Regions from separate parts of the Homo sapiens genome. Here region 1 is linked to region 2. The links are contacts of gene promoters, found by promoter capture Hi-C in blood cells and fetal thymus (Javierre and others, 2016). All regions are on one chromosome and are shown on one strand. Each heading gives the region's core, a stretch centred on a gene start or on the middle of the fragment in contact. The rest is flanking DNA. Distances are from core to core; before and after follow the strand shown. Region 1 holds the start of RBM44 (RNA binding motif protein 44). Region 2 holds the start of KLHL30 (kelch like family member 30).

Region 1 (5,445 bases), core at 1,326-3,825, 340 kb before region 2:
GGAACCCCCATCTCCACTAAAAATACAAAAATTAGCTGAGCGTGGTGGCAGGCACCTGTAATCCCAGCTACTGGAAGGCTGAGGCAGGAGAATCGCTTGAACTGGGGAGGTGGAGGCTGCATTGATCCGAGATTGTGCCACTGCACTCCAGCCTGGGCAACAGAACAAGGCTGTCTCGAAAACAAAACAAAACAAAACAAAACACCTCAAAGGGCCCAGAGGAAGGCAAAACAAGGACACTGGATCCCACAGTTAAACAAAAACAGCTGAGGTCACTTAAGTGGGAATGTTTCTTCCCCTTGCCGTAGCAGGAGGCTTGGTGTGTCTCATGCAAACAGCCCATTTGCCCTTCAACCCGCCTCCCTGCCAACAACCGGCAGCCCCTCCTGCCACCTGCTCAGTGGCTTGCCTGTAAGCACAGCATCACTGTCCGGCACAGCTTACCTTTTCTGTAGCCTGGTGACACATGTGATGTCTGTGCTCAGCCCATCCACTCATAACACAACATTTCATCTCTATTCCCTGAATCCCAATAATCCTCCCTAAGGATGGCATGATCACTGTCTTCGATGGTTTAAAAGGTTGATAAATGAAAGATTTGACTCTTTCTGTGTTGTACCCACCCACAGGGTGGAGAGGAGACTAACAGTGAAATGAGCATTTGGCAAATGGCTGTTCAGAGAGGAATTTCTCAAAATTCTAACTGTGGTGGAGCAGTCAAAGGAGAAACGCCAAGGGTCTAGAGTAGAACGTGGTTTCCAGCTGTCTTGACATCAGGGCTGCTGGCCCACAGACACACTTCCAGAGCCACCCCTTCCAGGGTCACCATGGCCCAGTCCTGCTCCAGATGCCATCTGCCCAGCAGCCCAGGGGAGAGTGTCCAGCCTTCTAATGTGAGCCTCAATCTGAACCCCTTTCTATAACAGAGGCCAGACCTCATAATCTCATCAGCAGCTCTGGCCTGCTGCTGCCGTGGCCGCCCTCTCCAGCCACTGGCGTTAACTTCCAATAACATAGGGACTTCTAAATGAAATCCACTGTAAAAGGACAGGCCATATCACTTTAAAAGACACTTGAAAGCACTTTTGGTAATGGCAAGATTTGCGATAAGTGTATTACATTATCCCAAGATCCATGCTCACGGTCCACTGTCCACCACTGCACCCTCAGCCCCTGGCCCCTGGCAGGCCAATAGCAATCTGCAGAATGAATGAATGAATGAATGAATGAAGTGCATTTCAGAGACTGCAGCCTCATTTGAGGGGATAATTTGGGGGTAGGTGCAGTTTTAGAGCCCCTCCTCTATCTGCCACCTATCCAAAGTCCTCCGTGGCCCAACAATCAAGTGCATGTTTAGACTAATAAGCAAATGAAGCCACCTGCAGCTCTATCCTGTCCCCACCCCTTCAGGACTGTGTCATTTTATACAGGTTTAAATTCCCTATCAAGGATAAGACTAGGCACAAAACATGGGGGGCAGGGGAGGGGATGCAAAAACTCAGTAATCTTTTAATGCAATCTTTTAAAAAATCGAAATTAATGCAAAAAATCCATAATAAAATATTCAAATTTAATTTAATTTAATTTATTTATTTTGAGACGGAGTCTTGCTCTGTCATCATCCAGGCTGGAGTGCAACAGGGTGATCTCAGCTCACTGCAACCTCCGCCTCCTGGATCCAAGCGACTCTCCTGCCTCAGCCTCCCGAGTAGCTGGGATCACAGGCGTCCACGACCACACCTGCCCGGCTATTTTTTGTGTTTTTAGTAGAGACGAGGTTTCGCCATGTTGGCCAGGCTGGTTTCGAACTCCTGACCTCAGGTGATCCACCTGCCTTGGCCTCCTAAACTGCTGGGATTACAGGCGTGAGCCACCGCGCCCAGCCCAGAATATTCAAATTTTAAATAAAGACAGGACCAGTAACAATGTACCCTGTGGAGCCATTTTAAGAGTCTGAGGCGAAAGGAAAAAATAGGACTGAATTTTTTCATTACTTTTGACTTTTTTTAGAGACTGCATTAAAATATTATTTATCTTGATTGCTATTTTGGCAGCCTCTGAAATCCTGTGCTCATGACAAATGCCTCACTGGCCTCACCCTAGTCGCGGCCCGACCCTGCTAACGGTATTTCTAGAAGATGGGCAGAGGACAAGCCAAACCCCGGGAGGGACCACGCGGCCTGGGAAACAGTTCGGCAAGGAGGCCGGGCCCCTGTCCCGCCTCTGAGGGCGGAGGACTCGGCCTGCACCGGACCCAAGCGAGGGGCAGTCTGGCCTCTGCTGGCAGAAGCAGCGCTTCCAAGTATTTTCATATGGTGACTTTGCAGAGCTGCGCGGTCCAGACGAGGGTTTCAGGCTGCAAAGCGGGAAAGTCTTGGGGGCCGCTCTGCGCTCCAAGACAGACGCCCACAATCTCTTCTACGTCGTGCAACATTCAAGCAGGCGGCCTCCTTCCCGCGCTTTCGCGCCCACAGGCTGGGCCAATCACAGTGCCGCACTTTTCATACTGCCCGACAGGCGGTGGGCGGGCCGCTGGTGACTGTTACCCAACAGGCGCCGCGGCTGCTCCGGTGGCGCCACTGACTCGGAGGCGGCTGCGGAGAGCGGGGCGCTGGCCCGTGGAGGCGGCAGCGGCGGCGGCTTTCTAGCGGATCCGAGGTGCGACGGACAGAGACGCGGGGCGGCAGGTCGGGCGGCGAAGCCGGCGAGGGCGAGGCCATGGGCTTGAGCGGTCGGGGTTGGCGAACCCCGCGTGTGGCCGGTCCCGGCGGCGAGGCCCGTCCCGCTGAAGCACGCGGGGACTCCGAACGGCGGTGTAGGCGAGGCCAGCGAGGCGGGCGGGGGACTGGCGCGTTCCTTGGGCGGCACTGGAGTTCCGGCGCCCTCATAGCGGGCGCCGACACCGCAAAAGTCGTTCTCGAACGAAGTCGCGGGGCCGGTCTCCCAAACTTGGTTATGTCCCCGGGGAAAGCTAGAAATTCGCACATATGCTTCTTCTTGCCGTGGAGACTGATGGAGCCTCTGCTGCGGGGCGGGGACTCTAGCGAGAGGGGGACGTGAAGTTCGTTCCGTACTCAGGCGTGTGTGCCCCTGACCGACGCGTAGGACGCCCTGGAGGACGGCGCCAGCTCCTGACCTAGTGTGAGGTGCCCGGACGGTTTCCCTAAGAAGCGCGTATTTAAGATGAGATCTGAAGTTGAGCGTGAACTCAAGGTGGGGTAGGGGGTGGGCAGGCGAGAGAACGCACAGGGCCTGACTTTTTGCATTTTTTTAGTAGAGACGGGGTTTCAACGTGTTAGCCGGGATGGTCTCGATCTCGGTCTCTATCTCCTGACCTCGTGATCATCCCGCCTCAGCCTTCCAGAGTGCTGGGATTACAGGCGTGAGCCACCGCGCCCGGCCAGGGCCTGACTTTTTAAGGAAATGGAAAGGAGGGTGTATCTGGAAGACACCAAGTGCCAAGGCTAACACAGAGCCCGGACCGTTGTAGGGTTTTACAGGACTTATTCAGATTTTAATCTGTCTGAAAACAGTGACAGTCCGTTGCTGAGTTTTAAGCAGGAGCGTAACTGATTCGATAAGCATTTTAGAAAGATTATTCTGGCCAGATGTGAGGTGATTGTCTGCATAGCTGTGAGAGTCAGGAGTTAAAATTGACAAGACCTCAGGGATAAGGGAGGTGTCAAGGGCGAGTCCTGTGGTTTCTGGCGATACCATTCCCTGGAGTTTCGTGCACTGGAGGAAATAGTTCGGTAAGTGAGAACTCAAAGAAAATAATAAAAATGGGCATGTACCTAGGAGTGGAATTGCTGGATCATGTGGTTGTCTTGTGTTTAACTTTCTGAGGAAGTGCCAGACTTCTCCAGAGTGGCTGCACCATGTTACATTCCCATCGGCAATGGATGAAGGTTCTGATTTCTCCATGACCTGCTCAACACTGTTGTTACTGTTATTGTTATTGTCATCCTAGTGGGTGTGAAGTGATATCTTTTGGTTTTGATTTGCATTTCCTTCATGACTCTTGATAAATTGAGCATATTTTCATGTGTTTATTGGCCATTTGTATATCCTCTTTGTCAAGTCATTTGCTCATTCTTAATATTGGGTTGTTTGCCTTTTTATTGTTCAGTTGTAAGAGTTTTTTCTATATTCTAGATAATAGACCTCTATCGCATACATGATCTGCAAGTACTTCCGTTATACTAAAATTTTCTCTTTGGCAAACGTTTTTAACTTTGGGTGTCTTCATATTTAAGAATGAAGCTTGCAGCACACTGCAGATTTCATTAAATGCAGATTTGAGTGTAGAATCAGATGTGAATGAGAATCCAGCTTGAGATAGTGTTGCTCTTCTCACCAATTTTTTGAAAATATGTTTTTAATTTAAAATTTTACTTAAGTAACGAATGTATTTTCTATGAATAAATTAATAAATATTTGAAAATGTTGCTTTAATTTCTAATATGGTAAGTATTGATGGATATTACCCAAATAAAAAAAAATACTCCTTGGGACTCTCAATCCTTTTTTTTTTTTTTTTGAGGCGGAGTTTCACTCTTGTTTCCCAGGCTCGAGTGCAATGGCATGATCTCGGCTCACTGCAACCTCCGCCTCCCAGGTTCAAGTGATTCTCCTGGCTCAGCCTCCTGAGTAGCTGGGATTACAGGCACCCACTACCACGCCCACTCTATTTTTAGTAGAGACGGGTTTTCACCGTGTTGGCCAGGCTAGTCTCAAACTCCTGACCTCAAGTAATCCACCCACCTCGGCCTCCCAAAGTGTTGGGATTACAGGTGTGAGCTACTGCGCCCAGCTGGGGTTCTCAATACTTTTTAAGAATATGAAGAGCGGGCTGGGTGCAGTGGTTTATGCCTGTAATCCCAACACTTTGAAAGGCTGAGGTAGGTGGATCCCTTGGGCTAGGGGACCATCCTGGGCAGCATGGTGAAGCCCTGTCTCTACAAAAAAGTTATCCAGGCATGGTGGTGCATGCCTATAGTTCAGCCATTTGGGAGGCTGAGGTGGGAGGATCACCTGAACCCAGGGACGTTGAGACTGCTGTGAGCTGTGTTGCTACCATAGCACTCCAGCCTCCAGCCTGGGCAACAGCGTGAGACCCTGACTTAAATATATACACACAATATTTTGAACAATCAAATGTATCAAATATATATGTATTTGAATTATCTTGGCCCGCTGCAACCTCCATCTCCTGGGCTCAAGTGATCCTCCCACTTCAGCTTCCCAAGTAGCTGGGAACACAGGCTCACACCACCATGCCCAACTAATTTCTTGTATTTTTGTTAGAAACAGGGGTTTCACCATGTTGCCTAGGCTGGTCTGGAACTCCTGAGCTCAAGTGAGCCACCTGCCTCGGCCTCCTAAAGTGCTGGGATTACAGTTGTGAGCCACCGCACCTGGCCAGACCAGTTCATTTTTATACAT
Region 2 (5,719 bases), core at 664-3,163:
AACTTGTGTTATTTTTATCCTCATAAAAAGAAACAAGTGGTGTATTTTTAAAAACTGCGCCACTCAGTAGCAATCTCTTGATGGAGGATCTGTTTTGCGCCCCCGGTGTTGAGTTTCCCAGACTGACCTGTCATCTGAGGTGCTGGGGCTCCGAGCCCCACGACGGCTGCTGTGAGGCCTCCACACTTGGCAAGCAGTGCTGTTCCCCGAGCAGAGCCAGCTCCCCGTGACAGCAGCCTGTCATCAGAATCCCCTGTCCTCATTTCCTCCAGCCCGAGCCAGGACTGCAAACAAGGGGGACAGTACGGAAACCCAACACTCTAGCGCCCACCCCATAGTGGTCCTGGACACAGCGAGAGTTGGGGTCCTCCATGAGGGTCCCCCACACAACATGAGGCTGATGCCCAAGGCTGGGGAAAAACCCTGGGACAGTGTGGGACACGAGCAGGGGAAAGAGCAGGAGCAGGGGCCAGGCTGGGCTGGGCTACGGCTGGGCTACGGCTGGACTATGGCTGAGCTGGGCTGGGCTATGGCTGGGCTATGGCTGGGCAATAGCTGAGCTGGACTGGGCTATGGCTGGGCTATGGTTGGGCAATAGCTGAGCTGGACTGGGCTATGGCTGGGCTATGGTTGGGCAATAGCTGAGCTGGGCTGGGCTATGGCTGGGCTATGGTTGGGCAATAGCTGAGCTGGGCTGAGCTATGGCTGGGCTATGGCTGGGCCAGGCTGGGCTGTAGAGGAAGCATGGACTCAGGGAATCTCTATGGAAGGTAACCCTAAGGGCACCTTGCAGACTTGGCAGTAATTTGTAGGTGAGCTTCCCCTCCATAGGCTGTGTGCATCTCAGGACCAGGAGTGGGGTTCTGTCTCCCTGGGGGCCGCCTGGACCTCTCTGGTCTGTAAGAGCATTAGGACAATCCCTAGTAGCATCAAGAGGCCACAGCCAGACCCAATACTCCCCAGTTCCTCCAGGTCGCAGCACACCTGGAAATGGTCATACTGCTCAGGCCCACATGGCCGATGGGTAGAGGGCTGAGGGCTGAGGGCTTCTCTCCCATGCACCTGAAGTCCCTCAGCCACAAAGCTCTGCTCTGGTCACTGGTGTGAGAAATGTCCAGTGGCCTCTTGGGTCCCCAACTCAACCCACCTGACCTTGGTCAGGGCCTGTGGTTCTGAGCCCATTTCAGTCCCAGGCGTGAGAGCTTCCCCCTGCGACTACCGTGAACCAAGTGCTGGACGGGAGGCTGATAGTCCACTGCTGTATTTTTAGGTGACCCTGTTTCTTAGCCGTCCTGGGCAGCCCCGAGGCCAAGGCCATGGGGTAGCAGGGCAAGGAGCCCCAAGATCTCCCCTATCCACGCTAGCTGGGCGGGGCAACTGAGTGTGGCACCTCCCCTCTCTGGGCAAAGTTTCCCTACCGCCACCATGGACCCCAAGCTCGGAAAGCCTCTGCTGACCAACCTGTGCTTATTCATGATAATCACGTTTTCCCACGTGACAACAGAACAAGAGGACACATAGGTGCCGCTGACATCAACAGCGAGGGCAGCACCTGTCGGTGTCCTGGCCCTGGGCTGAGGGTCTCTGTGACCCCAGGCCCCCACCACGGGCTCCACTGTACTCAACTTGTAGACGAGGAAACAGGTGGGGAAGCTGCATCCCTGCCCCCACCAGCCAGCCCAACCGCGACAGCTTTCACCTGTCCTTGCCCTGGAGCCCTTCCTGATGTCTGTCCTAGGCCACAAGTCCCTGGAAGGCCTCAGTGGGCTTTCTGAGCTAACAGTCACCAAGGAGCCGGCATCTCACTCCTTCCCCCACCAGCCCAGCCCTCACTGCCTGACCCTCCCCTCGCCCTGCAGACAGAGGCTAAAAATACCCTCCCCACGTGGCCACCAGACCAGCCCTGCCCCGCCCTGCAGGCCTCCGTGTCCCCTGGCTGCCGGCTAGGCAGTCCTGCTCTCTCGGGTCTGTGTTCTCAGCTTCGAGGTCCAGGCTGAGTGAGAGGTAGGATCCAGGGGGCTCTGGGGCAGGGGACAGCAGAGAGGGCAGGGGGAACCCAGCCAGGAGCAGCGGGGAGGGTGGGTTAGGCCCCCGAGGCCAGGGATCACAGCAGGGTGCTTTGGAGACGCCCCCTGGCCCTTGCCAGCGGCCAAGCCAGGCTCCTCAGGGTGGGGGCTCAGGAGACAGGTTTCCCTCCATGTCCCAGCCGGAGAGGTGGGAGGGGGAGGCTGGGCCACCCCTCAGATGGCAGCCAGGGCCACTCAGCCACAGTCGCCAGCCTGGCTGGGCTCAGGCCTTTTGTTGTCCTGCCCACTCGGCTTCCTCACTCCGGGCCTGGGCAGGCACTGGGGTGAGGCTCTGAGACCCTCAGGAAGCCCCGACCCATGCAGGGACTGCAGGGTGACAGGTGTCAGCAGGCACCCCGAGGCCCCCAGGGGAAGTGGGGGCGCTCATGCGTGCCTGCCCATCGCCCGGCAGCAGCTGGCCCAAGGGAGCACAACAATGACGGGAATGTGAGGCCTGCAGGCGGTGGCCCAGGGACAGCCCTGTCACCTACTCAGGCCCCAGCTCATCTCCCGGCTGCCCAGGGAGGGCAGAGCCGCCTTCACCGGGGCCAGCGCCTCCTGGGGAGGGGCCAGGCAGGAACCCCATGCATGCAGTGTTGGGTGGGTACTTCGTGTACCGGCCGGGATGCTGGGGTGTGGGGCCCCGGCCACGTGAGCTGCCCTGTGCGCGAGCCCGGGTTGGTCCGCGAGGCCCTGTGGGCTCCCAGGTGCTTCCCCGCTCTGGGGTCAAGAGGTGGCACCGGGGTCGGGAAGTCGGGGAGCCCTAGCTCCCATCGCCTGCACCTGTACCTGCACCGTGGCTGCCCGGGCCAGATTCTTGGCCTCCTGGTTCTCCAGCTGAGCTTTGTCATTTCCATGCGTGGCGTTCCCACGCATTTTGTACCTGTGGACGCGCGGCCGCCTCTCCTGCCCGGGATGGCCCCGCGAGGCGCCCCCTAGCGGGCGAACGGCCTCTCCGCTGCGCAGCCTTTCGCCCTGGGGTGACCCGGGTCGAAGGCTTGTGCACAGACTTGATCTCTCCTAGGGATGGTTGTCTTAGGGTGCGATACCAGAAGGACATAAACCACATGCACATAATTACATGAGCCTGAAAGCGGCCTTGCTGACTTCAACCATGCGGGCGTGGTGACGCGAAACCCTCCAGAACGCTGCCTTTGGCTGGCCGTTTCTGTTTAGCAGCCTCCACCCGGCCACGTGGAATGCAGGGTTCAGAGCCTGGGCCCCCAAGCCTAGCTCTGAGTTCAAATTCCAGCTCCACCACTTCCTAAATGTGTGATCTTGGGCAAGTGACTGAAACCTTCTGTGCCTCAGTCTCCCCAGCTGTAAAAGAGGCAATGATTGCACCCACCCTCCAGGACTGTTGTGGGGCTGAGTGGTGAATGCACAGCTTCTCTGCATGCTTGGCACGTGGCCTGGCACCTGGGAGCACCGCGGGAGCAGGAGCTGCTGCAGCCCCCAAATGGCCTCCCCAGCAATGTGGGATCTGGGACGGAGGACGCCTCCCGGGAGTTTGGGTGTCTCCGGGGTCCCTGGGGGGTGGGCTCAGTGTAGCCCAGGGTTGCAGATGACACCCAGGGCATGGGTTCTTTTGCCAACCCTGTTCTGCCCTGAATGCCTGGCCATGGGTAGGTCTCCCACCCTCTCTGAACCTCAATTTCCTCACTGCAAATGGGAATGACACCTGCCCTACCTTGCAGGGTTCTGGGGGTGGCTTGAGGCAGATGGGGGGTAAAGTGACTGGCATATGGTCGATGCCCATCCTGTGTTTATCAAGGGGTGGAAAGGGCTGATGGACAGACCGGGTGGGTTGCTCAGGAGGATGAGACCATCCCCACTTGGCTGACCCTGCTCTCTTCTCTCCTAGGAGCTCGGGCGGCTCCAGGCACTTCTTCCCTTGAGTGGGTGGACTACTGAGGTCCCCTGGGCACGGCGTCATGGTGCGGAACGTGGATGACCTGGATTTCCACCTGCCCTCGCATGCCCAGGACATGCTGGATGGCCTGCAGCGCCTGCGCTCTCAGCCCAAGCTGGCCGACGTCACACTGCTGGTGGGCGGCCGGGAGCTGCCATGCCACCGCGGCCTCCTGGCGCTCAGCAGCCCCTACTTCCATGCCATGTTTGCGGGTGACTTCGCCGAGAGCTTCTCTGCGCGCGTGGAGCTGCGGGACGTGGAGCCCGCCGTGGTGGGACAACTGGTGGACTTCGTGTACACAGGCCGGCTGACCATCACGCAGGGCAACGTGGAGGCGCTGACACGCACGGCTGCGCGCCTGCACTTCCCCTCGGTGCAGAAGGTCTGCGGCCGCTACCTGCAGCAGCAACTGGATGCCGCCAACTGCCTGGGCATCTGTGAGTTCGGGGAGCAGCAAGGGCTGCTGGGCGTGGCTGCCAAGGCCTGGGCCTTCCTGCGAGAGAACTTTGAGGCTGTGGCACGTGAGGACGAGTTCCTGCAGCTTCCCCGAGAGCGGCTGGTCACTTGTCTGGCCGGCGACCTGCTGCAGGTACAGCCGGAGCAAAGCCGACTCGAGGCCCTGATGCGCTGGGTGCGCCATGACCCGCAGGCCCGGGCCGCCCACCTGCCCGAGCTGCTCAGCCTAGTGCACCTGGACGCCGTGCCCAGGCCCTGCGTGCAGCAACTGCTGGCCTCAGAGCCCCTGATCCAGGAGTCAGAGGCATGCCGGGCAGCCCTGTCCCAGGGCCATGATGGGGTGAGTGAGCGGCTGGGAGGCCCCATCCCTGGGAAGCAGGGAGGAGAGCCCCAGAGACCCCACCTGAGTAGGGACAGAGTAAGGAGTGGACATTCCAAGGTGCACTCTGACCTTGCCACGCTCCTTGTTTTGGGCCAGTTCCCCATGAGGACATCACTATTCAGCCCTCAAGTGCAGATCATGCCTCTGTGTGTGTCACGCCCTGTGTGCAAGGGGCAGGGGAATGTGGAAGTGGTAAGATCTGGCCCTGTCCTGAAGGAGCCTGCAGCTCAGTGGGACAAGCCTGGAAACAGACCTCAGGCAGTGTGGAAGGGCCAAATACATGCCTAGGACGCATTCTGGGTGGGCTGGCAGTCAAGGAGGGCTCTCTGGAGGAGGCAGCATCTGAGCTGGGCCTTAGAGGAGGGATAGGAGCTCACAAGGAGGAAAAGAGGGGAAAACCATCCAGGAAGGAGGTGCAGCTTGTGCACAGGCAAGGAGGCACAGACAGGCCTGGCAGTCCGCCTGAGCTTTTATGGGGTGCTACTTCCTGTTTGTGCTGGCAGTGTGCCTGGCAGGCATGGCAGGTCATGATGGAATGACAGGTCTGGGAGTGGCTGTTCGGTCAGCTGCCGGGCACCCTGCTCAGGGGCCTTGCTTCGGGGCACTCCTTTAGAGCCAAGTCCGGGGACAAAGAGTGGCTCAGACTGATGGTCCTCAGGCCAAGGGTGGAGTGAGTAGTGGGCTAAACCCTAACCCCTGTCCCCACTGGATTCCAGCCAGTCACAGAGCGCCCGGCCTCCTGCTGGAGCTGGCTTCAGAGCCTTGCCCGTGGACGGTCACCTTGTATTCTAATTCCTGGCAGTGGGAGATCTGGGGGTTCCATATGGGGGGCCAGGGTGGATGGCTGTGGGAGAGCCTGGGGTCCTGGGAGACCTAGGCAGTGACTGCTTACCGGCCGTTCCT

The links. The method cuts DNA at HindIII sites, captures the fragments that hold promoters and counts their contacts. A CHiCAGO score of 5 or more calls a contact.
Region 1: the fragment with the promoter of RBM44 here is called in contact with the fragment with the promoter of KLHL30 in region 2 in 1 of 17 cell types (erythroblasts); the score reaches 5.1 in erythroblasts.

Annotation. Positions count from the first base shown.
Region 1 is chr2:237,796,204-237,801,648 of GRCh38, forward strand. RBM44 (RNA binding motif protein 44) reads left to right here and starts at 2,576. Exons shown (of 16, transcript NM_001080504.3): 1 at 2,576-2,658. The HindIII fragment of the contact is 5,628 bases long and covers 1-4,261 here.
Region 2 is chr2:238,136,755-238,142,473 of GRCh38, forward strand. KLHL30 (kelch like family member 30) reads left to right here and starts at 1,914. Exons shown (of 8, transcript NM_198582.4): 1 at 1,914-2,004; 2 at 3,931-4,774. The coding sequence starts at 4,001. RefSeq lists an enhancer at 4,170-4,683. The HindIII fragment of the contact is 29,351 bases long and covers 1-5,719 here.